Regions from separate parts of the Homo sapiens genome. Here region 1 is linked to region 2. Evidence: promoter capture Hi-C in 16 types of primary human blood cells and fetal thymus (Javierre and others, 2016). All regions are on one chromosome and are shown on one strand. The core of a region is centred on a gene start or on the middle of the fragment in contact, and the rest is flanking DNA. Distances in the headings are between cores, read along the strand shown. Region 1 overlaps RRP1B (ribosomal RNA processing 1B). Region 2 holds the start of PKNOX1 (PBX/knotted 1 homeobox 1).

Evidence for each region. The method cuts DNA at HindIII sites, captures the fragments that hold promoters and counts their contacts. A CHiCAGO score of 5 or more calls a contact.
Region 1: a contact is called between a fragment that was not itself captured here and the fragment with the promoter of PKNOX1 in region 2, in 1 of 17 cell types (naive CD8 T cells). The highest score is 5.0, in naive CD8 T cells.

Annotation. Positions count from the first base shown.
Region 1 is chr21:43,659,925-43,665,777 of GRCh38, reverse strand. The region is part of intron 1 of RRP1B (ribosomal RNA processing 1B); the gene reads right to left. Among named protein-coding and RNA genes, the nearest start is that of RRP1B, 3.3 kb to the right of the region's middle. RefSeq lists enhancers at 2,417-2,476, 5,226-5,275. The HindIII fragment of the contact is 3,367 bases long and covers 357-3,723 here.
Region 2 is chr21:42,972,005-42,977,659 of GRCh38, reverse strand. PKNOX1 (PBX/knotted 1 homeobox 1) reads right to left here and starts at 3,098. Exons shown (of 11, transcript NM_004571.5): 1 at 2,996-3,098. RefSeq lists enhancers at 1,573-2,299, 5,422-5,655 and silencers at 2,261-2,460, 2,601-2,920, 3,051-3,440, 3,751-3,910. The HindIII fragment of the contact is 12,758 bases long and covers 1-5,610 here.

The DNA.
Region 1 (5,853 bases), core at 791-3,290, 690 kb before region 2:
GGAGGGGAAGGGGAGTTGTCATGTCACATAGCAAGGGAGGAGGAAGGTGCCAGGCTCTTTAACAGTCAGATCCCACAGGAACTAGGAGTGCGCGCTCATTTAATCCTGAGAATGGCACCAAGGGTTCCGCTGGAACCCAGGAGGCGGAGGTTTCAGTGAGCCAAGATCGCACCACTGCACTCCAGCCTGAGCGACAGAGCAAGACTCCATCTCAAAAAATAAACAAATAAATAAAATAAAATAAAACTAGCATGGCGTAGATGTTCTGTCAAGTTGCAACTGAAAGAGTCCTAACTAATAAAAACACGTTTATTGCAAAGAACCTTACCACCATCAAAGTGATATAATCACAAGCTTGTCTTGCTCCCTGCCTCCTGAATCCCAGGCTCTGAACCAGAGGGACTGATGCAACCTGTCTGATGTGTATCTTTCCAGATCTTTCCTGGGCATTTATTTACAGAACAGTTACAGGTAGTGCAGAAAAGCACAGTTGTGTGTGTGACCTAAATGGCATAATATTCTGTATTCTGGTCTTTCTCACTTAAAAACAGCATATTTATTTCCAGATGGTTTTGTAAGTATACCATTGGGTCAAGCCAACAGTAAGTGATAATGTGGTCTGCCTAGCATCTGCTATGGATAGCCCACACCTGTAACAGGCAAAGGCACAGTATGATGTGCTACAGAGGCGTTCATAATGGAAAACAGTAGATTCTGACGGAGTGACAACAGACCCTGGACAGTGGGCAGCAAAGTGGGCTGGGTGAGTAATATGGGTTGGCTGTGTCCCCACCCAAATCTCACCTTGAATTGTAATAATCCCCACGTGGTGGGAGGGACCCAGTGGGAGGTAACTGAATCACGGGGACGGGTTTTTCTCATGCTGTTCTCGTGAGACTGAATAAGTCTCATGAGATCTAACGGTTTTATAAAGGGGAGCTCTCCTGCACATACCCGCTTGCCTGCCGCCATGGATGACCTGCCTTTGCTTTGTTTCTCCTTTGCTGTCTGCCATGATTGTGAGGCCTCCCCAGCCATGTGGAACTGTGAGTCCATTAAACCTATTTCCTTTATAAATTACCCAGTCTCCGGAGTGTCTTTATTAGCAGCGTGAGAACAGGCTAATACAATGAGAAAAGATACTCTGATTGTCTCTTTTCTAGGAGGCAACAGAGTAGCACGGAAACAAACCTTGGCTCAGGCCCCAGCTTCCTGCTGACAGGGGCCCAGTATCAGAAAACTGTCAACTGACTTTTGGGCCTCAGTTCTATCACCTATACTATATGAAAGATTTATTGTTAGGGTCAAGCCCAAGACGTGTGAAACACTGTAAGAACAAAGCACTATTGAGTTGGTGAGAGATTACAATAATAATTGTCTCACTTTCTATTCCTAGGAATACATTTTACATTTTGTTCCCTTTTTTCTTTTTCTTTTTTTTTTTTTTTTTGAGACGGAGTTTTACTCTTGTTGCCCAGGCTGCAGTGCAATGGTGCGATCTTGGTTCACTGCCTCCCGGGTTCAGGTGATTTTCCTCCCTCAGCCTCCCAACCTCAGGTGATCCACCCGCCTCGGCTTCCCAAAGTGTTGGGATTACAGGCGTGAGCCACTGCGCCCGGCCCATTTTGTTCCCTTTTAAAACATCTATTTTCCATTTATGTCTGTGTGTGTGTGTTCACCTAGGAATCTAATAAAAACAAGCCACCAATTTTTGAAGTATTCAAAGTAAAAGAGAGAAATGCTCATTACTGAATTACTTTCAAAGCTCTGAAAGGCAAAGTACATTATCTGAAGCAGTTTGGTTTCATCAGTCTTGTCTTCTCTATTTTCTTCTTGGGGCTAAATTTCTTAAACTTAATACTACTGTTTTTACAACAATACAATATAGGTTTATTTATTTCAAAATGAATGAGGTAGGCCAGGTACAGTGGCTCACTTCTGTAATCCCAGCACTTTGGGAGACCGAGGTGGGCAGATCACCTGAGGTCAGGAGTTCAAGACCAGCCTGGCCATCATAGAGTGAAACCCTGTCTCTACTAAAAAAATACAAAAATTAGCTGGGCATGGTGGTGCATGCCTGTAGTCCCAGCTACTTGGGAAGCTGAGGCAGGATAATCGCTTGAACCTGGGAGGTGGAGGTTGCAGTGAGCCGAGATTGTGCCACTGCACTCCAGCCTGGGCGACAGAGCAAGTCTCTGTCTCTCAAAAAAACAAAAACAAAGGCTGGGCACGGTGTGGCTCACACCTGTAATCCCAGCACTTTGAGAGGCCTAGGCGGGCGGATCATGAGGTCAGGAGCTCAAGACCAGCCTGGCCAACATGGTGAAACACCGTCTCTACTAAAAACACAAAAATTAGCCAGGCGTGGTGGTGGGCGCTCGCTACTCGGGAGGGTGAGGCGGGAGAATTGCTTGAAACTGGAAGGTGGAGGTTGCAGTTAGCAGAGATCGCGCTGTTGCACTTCAGCCTGGGTGAAAGAGTGAAACTCTGTCTCAAAAAACAAAAACACACAAAACAAACGAGGTAAACATCAAAGTGAGACATGTAGACATGTGAAATATTAGTAAGTTTTGAAATGAGCAAATCCAACAGCCACTCTCACCACGCAATGAGCCCAGAAGCCATTTTAGATGGGGGTAAAGTGTTAAACTTGAACACACCCCAGTGTCAGAACATCCACAACTTCTATTTATTATAACTCTTGGATAGAGAGAACCCTAACCCCATCATTATAAAAAAACTTATATCCTCCATCATCTACACTGAATCTAATATAGCATCAACCATAAGATGTACTGTTATTTTGTATGCTGCCAAAAAGAAAGCAATGATACAAATGAAATTGTCACTGGGTTGATTTTGGGATGCCTCCCCATTTTAGTCAATATTTTTAAAGTTGCAGAACTGATAAGATAGGCAGGGATGGTCTGTTTTGTTCACTGCTATATTCCCAGTGCCAAGAATAGCGTACATAATAGTACACAGTTGGCACTCCATAAATGTTTGCTAAATATATGAATGAATGAATGAATTGGGACAAATAAGCTCTTATGGATGAAAGCCATGGAGAGTGATCATTTTATGACTGTGAGCACCCAACTTGAACAGTTAAAGCAAGAGCGCAACACTGTTACTTAAAGCAATACAAAGATTTCCAATTTATTTTTAAAATGACAAAGCTATCTATTGATGTTGCTGCAGAACAGCTCATGTTTCAGGAAGAGTGATAGCTCACATTTCCTTTATGATGCCTAAGACAAGATGCAGAAAAGTTGGAGCCTGTCATCGGGAGTCGAATGTCAGGCCAAGTTATTTCCAAACTTGTGCTGTAATTGTGATGGGGCATAGCTGTGGTGGAGACCTTGTGTTTTCTTGTCCCATTATCACTGTCCACGACGTTCATGCTGCGGAGTTATTTTCTGAAGGTCCACTGTACTCCATGCAATGTGGTGGTGAACAAGATATACAAGACAAGTCACTCTGGGTGTGATAGGCACTAACCAGACAGGACTCTGGAGCACTGGTGTAAACTGGTCTTAGGCCCCCGCATAACCTCTGCATTTGCAAATCCTGGGCTGGCTCACCAAAGGGTTTGAGCAAAAGGCTCTGTCTAGGCTGTCTTAGCACCGTAAGTATTGCCTCTGGTCTTCCACTCTTGTACAGGCCAAGACCTTTTACGGTTGCATGTACTCCCACTTCTGGCTAAGAAAACAGATGGAAGCTTACGGTGTTTCGGGAGAAGGATGACACATTGATAATTAAGAAGCAATGTAGCTAAGTGCTACAACAGAGACACAATGGATGTTTTAGAACCCTGGAGGAGTAGGGCAAGATGCTAGGCGAGGCTTTTTGAAGGAAGTGATACTGAACTGAATGCTGGCAGTGAAGAAGGTGTGGGATTCTTTGCAGAGTGAACAGGAGAAGCAAAGGCAGAGAGGTGAGAAATTGTGTGCTGTACACCAAGAACCATCACCGATTCTGTTGACGGAACATGAAGCAGTTACACGGGGCTTAGGCAGGAAGAGCACCTGAGGACAGATCATGACTTGCAGACACTGAATTTCAAAAAATATTGGTGATGTGGGATCAGATTTGTTTTAGGAAGATGACCCTGGGCTGGTCTGTGGAGGACAGATTCCTGGGGACACAAGTGAAGTTAAGGAGACCAGTTGGGGAATATGCGGGCGCAGAAGTTTCGGTGAGATACAAAGAGCCCACGGTCAAGAATTTATGTCATCAGGAGGTGAACGAGGGAGGACGGGGGTCCTCCCACTGGATGTGGGCCAGGGGAAGAGGATGAGGAATTCAGAGGAGTCCAGGACAATCCCGTGTGTCCGGCTGGAATCTGAATGGCTGGTGGGAACCAGCAACCAAAAGAAAAGAAAACAGGTGGCAGTGGAGCAGCAGCAGAGAACAGGATTTCGGGGAAAGAAAACAGAACTTTTTTTGGCATCCTGAGTGTGAGGTGCCAGGTAGAGAAGCCAGGCTAGCAAGGCACATCCGAGCTGCAAGTAGGAATGGGCTGGGACAACAATTTAGGTTTAGAAACCACCAGCATATATGGGGTACCTGGAACTGTGAGACTAAACAAAATCTCTTGGGGAGATTCTTAACAGAATCAAAGTCAGGAATTTTGGTCTTTATTCCTTTTTCTATCAGACTTCCCAGGAAAGTGTATTTTCTTTTTTTGGGTAGTCTGGTGATTTCTCTTAAAAATAAAACAAACTGAGAATGTCAGTGATGGGGGAGATAATATCTGTTCTTTTAAGCAGATTCTAAATGTATTAGTACCATCAGTAACTAAATAAAACTTTATCTTAAAACCTCTATTACACATTGTAGTTCATATTGTATGGGCTCACTCAAGAGTTTATAGAAAGTATTTTTGGATCAGGTAAATGAAATCATCCAACAGCAGTGCCGTTAAAATCTAAACTACAAAGCCCTGTGTGATCTGGCCACTGCCTACATCTCCAACTTCATCTCATAACACTCGCCCCCCCAACCCCAACTTATTGGTCTTTCAAACCACTCCTAGGGCACGTGAAGCTCTTTCCTGCCTCTGCATAGGCGGTTTCCGCTCATTTCTCTTCAGATCTGAGCTGATTATCAGCCCAGAGAGGCCTTCCCAGAACAGCCTATCAAGAAGAGCAACCTCCTTCCCTTTTTGCTATTATCTGGTTTTCTTTTTCCTTTTTTCTTTTCTTTTCTTTTTGAGACGGAGTTTCGCTCTTGTTGCCCAGGCCGGAGTGCAATGCTGCGATCTCGGCTCACCGCAACCTCCGCCTCCCAGGTTCAAGCGATTCTCCTGCCTCAGCCTCCCGAGTACTGAGATTACAGGCATGCGCCACCATGCCCGGCTAATTCTGTATTTTTAGTAGAGCCGGGGTTTCACCATGTTGGTCCGGCTGGTCTCGAACTCCCGACCTCAGGTGATCCGCCCGCCTCGGCTTCCCAGAGTGCTGGGATTACATGCGTGAGACACCGCGCCCGGCCTGCTACCTGGTTTTCATTTCCTTTACTACACTTACACAAGGTCTACTTTATTTGCCTGTTTGCCTCCTTGCTTTATTACTAATAGATCCTCGAGGGTAGTGATTTTGTCTGTCTTCTCTCCTGCAGCCCCGTCACGTAAAGGTGCTGGTCAAAGGAAGGCGGCAATCACCGACCGGACACCAGGGCAAATCAGGGCAGCCCAGTGATTCGAGATGCCGGCTGGGGAATCGGACCCATGTGGGTCTTTTCTCAGCTTCCCCGCTTACTGTGACTTTCATAAGTAACGGAACCCCCTCAACCCGTTTCCTTAAGTGTAAAAAGGCACTAGACACAGCAAGAAGCGGTTCCGGCAGCGCG
Region 2 (5,655 bases), core at 1,849-4,348:
AGGAGAATCGCTTGAACCCGGGAGGTGGAGGTTGCAGTGAGCCGAGATCACGCCATTGCTCTCCAGCTTGGGCAACAAGAGTGAAAATCCATCTCAAAAAAAAAAAAAAAAAAAAAAAAAAAGTTGGAAGCAGCAGAGGCTGGTTCATGAGGTTTAAGGAAAGAAGCTGTCCCCATAACACGAAAGTACAAGGTGAAGCAGCAAGTGCTACCTAACAGAAAAGCAACACCAGGTTATCCAGGTCTAGCTAAGATCATTGATGAAGGCAGCGAGACGAAAAAGCAGATTTTCAATATAGACAAAAGACTTCCTTTGGAAGGAGATGACATCTAGGACTTTCATACCTAGAGAGAACTCAGTGCTTAGTTTCAAAGGGCAAGCTGGCTCTCTTGTTAGGGGCAAATGTCACTGGTGACTTTAAGCTGAAGCCAGTGGTCTTTGACCATTCTGAAAATCCTAGGGTTCTGAAGAATTATGTTACGTCTACTCTTGCCTGTGCTCTGGAAATGGAATAACACATTACTGAATATTTTAAACCCACTGTTGAGATCCACTGCTCAGAAAAAGATTTCTTTCAAAATATTACCGTTCACTGACAATGTACCTAGTCACCCAAGGGCTCTGATGGAGATGTACACAAGGAGATGAATGCTGTCTTCATGTCTGCTAACACCACATCCATTCTGCAGCTATGGATCCAAGGAGTAATCTTGACTTTCAAGTCTTAATTATTTAAGAAATACATTTTGTAAGGCTATAGCTGTGGTAGTGATTCCTCGCATGAATCTGGGCAAAGTAAACTGAAAACCTTCTGGAAAGAATCTGCCATTCTAGATGCCATTCATGATTCATGGAAGGAAGTCAAATAACATTAACAGGAGTTTGGAAGAAGTTGATTCTAACCCTTATGATGACTTGGAGGAGTTCAAGACTTCAGTGGAGGAAGGAACTGCAGATGTGGTGGAAATAATGAACAGTTGCTTCTTACGGATGAGCAAAGAAAGTGGTTTCTTGAAATGGAATTTATTCCTAGTGAAGACGCTGTGCACATTGTGGAAATGACAACAAAACATTTGGAATATCACATCAACTTAGTGGATAGCAGTGGCAGAGTTTGAGAATAGCCTCCAACTTTGAAAGAATTTTCACTGTGGTTAAAATGCTATCAAAACAGCATCACATGCTACAAAGAAGTCTTTCATGAAAGGAGGAGTCCATCAATGCAGTAAATTTCACTGTTGTCTTATTTTAAGTAACTGACACAGCCACCACCACCCTGATCAGTCAGCAGCCATCCACACTGAGGCCAGATTGTCAAAGTATAAAACAAGCAGGACTCACTAAAGGCTCAGATGATCATTAGTATTTTTAGCACTAAAATATTTTTTAATTAACGTAAGCACATTTTTATAGATATAATGCTTGCTATTGCACACTTTAAGTAGTATACTGTAATTACAACTTTCATATGCACTGAAAAACCTAAAACTGTTGCGTCACTTGCTTTACTGCAATACTTATTTTACTGCGGTGGTCTGGATTAGAACTCGAATTATCTGAGGTACGCCTGTGTACAAGGACAGGATTCACAAATCACTCTAAGTAAATTAAGCAGAGTGATGAAAGGCTCATTGGGGTCAGCCTGCCATCTTCCAAATTATGACTAAATGCAAGAGCATCACCAATAACTATACTGGCAGAGGTTCACATTTCACCTCGATTCTTCCTTATGTTTAGAGAAAGCCTATTTTTCAGTATGCCAGGAAAAATCATGAAAGTAGACCTAACTAAAGCTGGGGGTTTCTTTCATCCTGAAGAGGAACCACTTCCTAAGGAAAAATCATCTACTGTTTTAAAAAGCAAACTCTCGTAGAGTTGGAAGAGAACCCCACACACAGGTGGAACACCCCCCAGGGCTGCGGCCCCGCCGTGGCGCTCAGCCTGGCCTGCCCTGGGCCCGACCTCAGGACGCCGCCATTCCCGGACCCTCGGGCCTCCCGTCAGGAATCCGCCATCGGAACGGAGGCCCTAACTGGTCCCGTCGCAGAGCCACTGTCCAAATAAGGCATTTCGAGAGCCACGAGGATGACATAAAGCAGACTCCGCGTTTCTTCATTTTTCGTTAAGTGACACGATTTCCCTCACAAGGAAGGTGCAAACCCACAGGGCGCCCAGACCCTGCCCGGCACTTCCTGTCATCCATTACCACGACCCGTGTGACAGAAGCGGCTCTTCCCACCAATTCCCGGGACGCCGGAACCGCTTCCCCAGCACCCGGCCCCAAACACTGCCGTCAGCGAGCGGCCCTGGGCTGCTCCCGCGCCGGCGCCCGGCTGAGGGCCACGAGCCCCATCACGCCCACCGCCCCCAGGACCCCGACCCACCCGCTCGCCACGGCCGAGGCCGGGGCCGGGGTCGCGGCCGCCATCTTCCCGCCTGCGCCGCCGCGCGCCCCGCACCCTCCGAGCAGCCCCGCCGGCCCTGAGGACTCCGCGAGGCCGCGGACCCGACCGGCCCCACGCGCGCCGCCCGCCCCGGCCCCGCCCCGCCGCGCGCCCCCGACCCTCACGCCCGCCGCCCCGCCCGCGCCGGGCTCCGCGCGCCCCCGCCCCGCGCCGGGGCGCGCGCCGCACTCCGAAAGGGACGGTTAGGAGCGCGCGCTTCGATCAGGCCCAGCGCGGCGGCGGCGGCGCCTTCCAGAAATTTCCGCGTCCCTCAACCCACACTAAGAAACCAACTGGGCGCGCCCCCGCGCCGGTTGGGCTGAAGGCGCCCCCTCCCCCGCGGGTGCCCGCTCCCCTCCCCCACCCGCGCCCCCTCCCCGCCCCCTGCCCCGGGCGGCGGGTCAAATGCGGGCCCTCGAGGGCAGCGCCGGCCCTCCAGACCCGGGCGGCAGCGGCGGCGGCGGGCGGCGGCCGCGGGCCGGTGTGATTGATAGGGACGGCGGCGGCGAGAGCGGCGGCGGCGGCGGCGGAGCGGTTGAGTGACAGCTTACCTGGGTGCCAATCTTCATCACACTGACAAGCGGCTGCAGCAATCGGGACCCGCAGTGCCGCGCCCGCGTCCAACCGTCACGCCGACGCTGGGCCACGCGACACAGCCTCGCTCAATGGGAGGAGGGCGACGCCGACGCGCGCCGCATCAATATTCAGAGAGGGGGCGGGGCCTGCCGGAGACGGGCCCCGCCCCTCCCTGCGCGGCGGCGGGCGCGGGGCGGGGCCTGATCGCTGGGGGAGGAGAGCGAGGGCGGGAACCGGGCGGTGGCCGGCCCCGCCTCCAGCCCCGCCCGCACCCGGAGCTAGGCCGTGCCCCCAACCGGCCGCGCCCGAGCGCGAGGAGCTGTCTGCCCCGCCCCGAAGGCAGAGCCTCCCGCCTTATGACTATGCAGTAGGGGCGTGGCCTCAGCGCACGTCTTGCCCCCTCCGCGCCCTCGGTTGCCGCCCAGGAGAGGTGTGTGTAGCCGGGCGAAACCATTTGCCTCGAGCAGGCGGGGAGGGAGGGCTGTACCATCCGTAACCCCACCGCCGGGCGTCCCGTAGCCGAAGGCCTCCGTTCTGTGTGTGCCCGGTTTGAATGTAAGCCCGTGGGAGCCTCGCAGCCTTCCTCCCCAGGCTCTGGAGCCCGGGTGGGCCCGTCCTGGGCGGCACAGTGGATGCTCACGTGCCTCCCCCCCTGCGGCAGCGCGAGTGCTTAGCACCTGAGGCTTTACCCTGGGGGCTGTCTTCCCTCTGTGAGGACCCCAGCAAGGACTCATGATGTCCACAGGTGCTTAGGGGTGGCCTCTGGGCTACTTGGCCTCGCTTGACCACACCTTCCGGCCCAGGTGAGCCTTGCGGGTCTAGGTGACCAATGCGGCCTCCAGGTAAAGGGCACCTGCCTTAGGGGACGCCCACAAGTGTCTGCATTTCAAACTGCTTTGAAAGACCACCCTAACCGACCACTGCCACAATGTACCCACAAGTGCAGATGGTGGCTTTGGTCTCCAAGATGTAAGGAAAGGGCGACACATTCCCCACTGCGTAGGAAAGCACACGGTTTGCCTGACTGGCCTTCAATACTGCAGAAACATCCATTTATGCAGTGGCCCACCGAAGGCCATCAGTGCCTTGAGTCCATACACAGCGCGGGAAGGGCAGCTCTGTGGGCCCCCACTCCTCCCGGAAGGCAGACAGGCCCAGGACTGGAGCTGATTGCTAGAGGGAGCCTGGGGGTAGGTCTAGGCATGAACAGCTCGGAGGACATCCCTCCTGTGTCTTCAGAGCTCCACACCGCCAGGAGGTCTTGGCCAAGTGCTGTGCAGCTGCAGAGCCGCCTCTTTCAGAAAGATGGGAAGCAGCAGGGTGGGCAAGAGGGAGGCCCTGAGATACTTGCCCAAGGAGGGAAGTTCAAGGGGACAAAAAAAGCTCAGTATTCAAGACTGAGCATAATCTGCAGAGCCTAGTGCAAGATCCAGATGCAAGTGTCAATAGGTGTTGGAACAGAGAGACTCCACATGGGCTGGGTAAACTGAAGCTGAGACCTGCTGGGCCGCACCCCCCAGGAGTTAAGGCGTTCTTAGTAATCGGATGAGATAGGAGGTCGGAACAAGACACAGGTCACAAGGATCCTGCTGATAAAACAGGATGCAGTAAAGAAGCCGGCCAAATCCCACCAAAACCAAGATGGCGGGGAAAGTGACCTGTGGCCTTCCTCACTGCTGATTATACACTAATTATAATATATGAGCTTGGTAAAACACACTCTCGCCAGCGCCATGACAGTTTTCAAATGCCATGGCAACGTTTGGAAGATACCCTACATTGCCTAAAAGGGGTCGGGCGCAGTGGCTCACGCCAGTAATCCCAGCACTTTGGGGAGGCCAAGGCGGGCAGATTACTTGAGGTCAGGAGTTGAGACCAGCATGGCCAATATGGTGAAACCCCATCTCTACTAAAAATACCAAAAAATTAAGCAGGCGTGGTGGCATACACCTGTAGTCCCAGCTACTTGGGAGGCTGAGGCAGGAGAATCGCTTGAACCTGGGAAGCAAAGGTTGCAGTGAGCCGAGATCACGCCATTGCACTCCAGCCTGGGCAACGAGCAAGACTCCATCTCCAATAAATAAATAAATAAATGGAAGAGGAAGCCTAAGTTCTGGGAATTCCCCACCACTTTCCCAGAAAACTCATGAATAATCCACCCCTTGTTTAGCACGTGATCAAGAAATAACCAATATAATTCAGGAACGGATTCTAGGGAAAAAAAAAAGGACCATAAAAATAGCCAACCAGCAGCCCTTGGGGCTGCTCTGCCTATGGAGTAGCCATTCTTTGGTTTATTTACTTCTCTAACAAACTCACTTTCACTTTACTCTGTGGATTCTCCCTGAATTCTTTCTTGTGTAAACTCCAAGAACCCTCTCTTGGGATCTGGATTGAGACCCCATTCCAGTAAGACAAAGTCCCTGGCTCAGAAATTACAGTGAAGAATTTCAAGGCAGTGACAGCAGAACCTTACCCCAAGCCTGGGCCCTTCTCAGCAGGGGCAGGGGCCCTGTGACATGCTGTTCAGGCCCCTGGAAGCAGCCCGGGGCTCACTGGCCACACCTACACCTGCCCCCGGTCTGAAGCTTTCATTTATTTGCATCTGGCCTGTGAGACAGCAGGAGTTCCACAG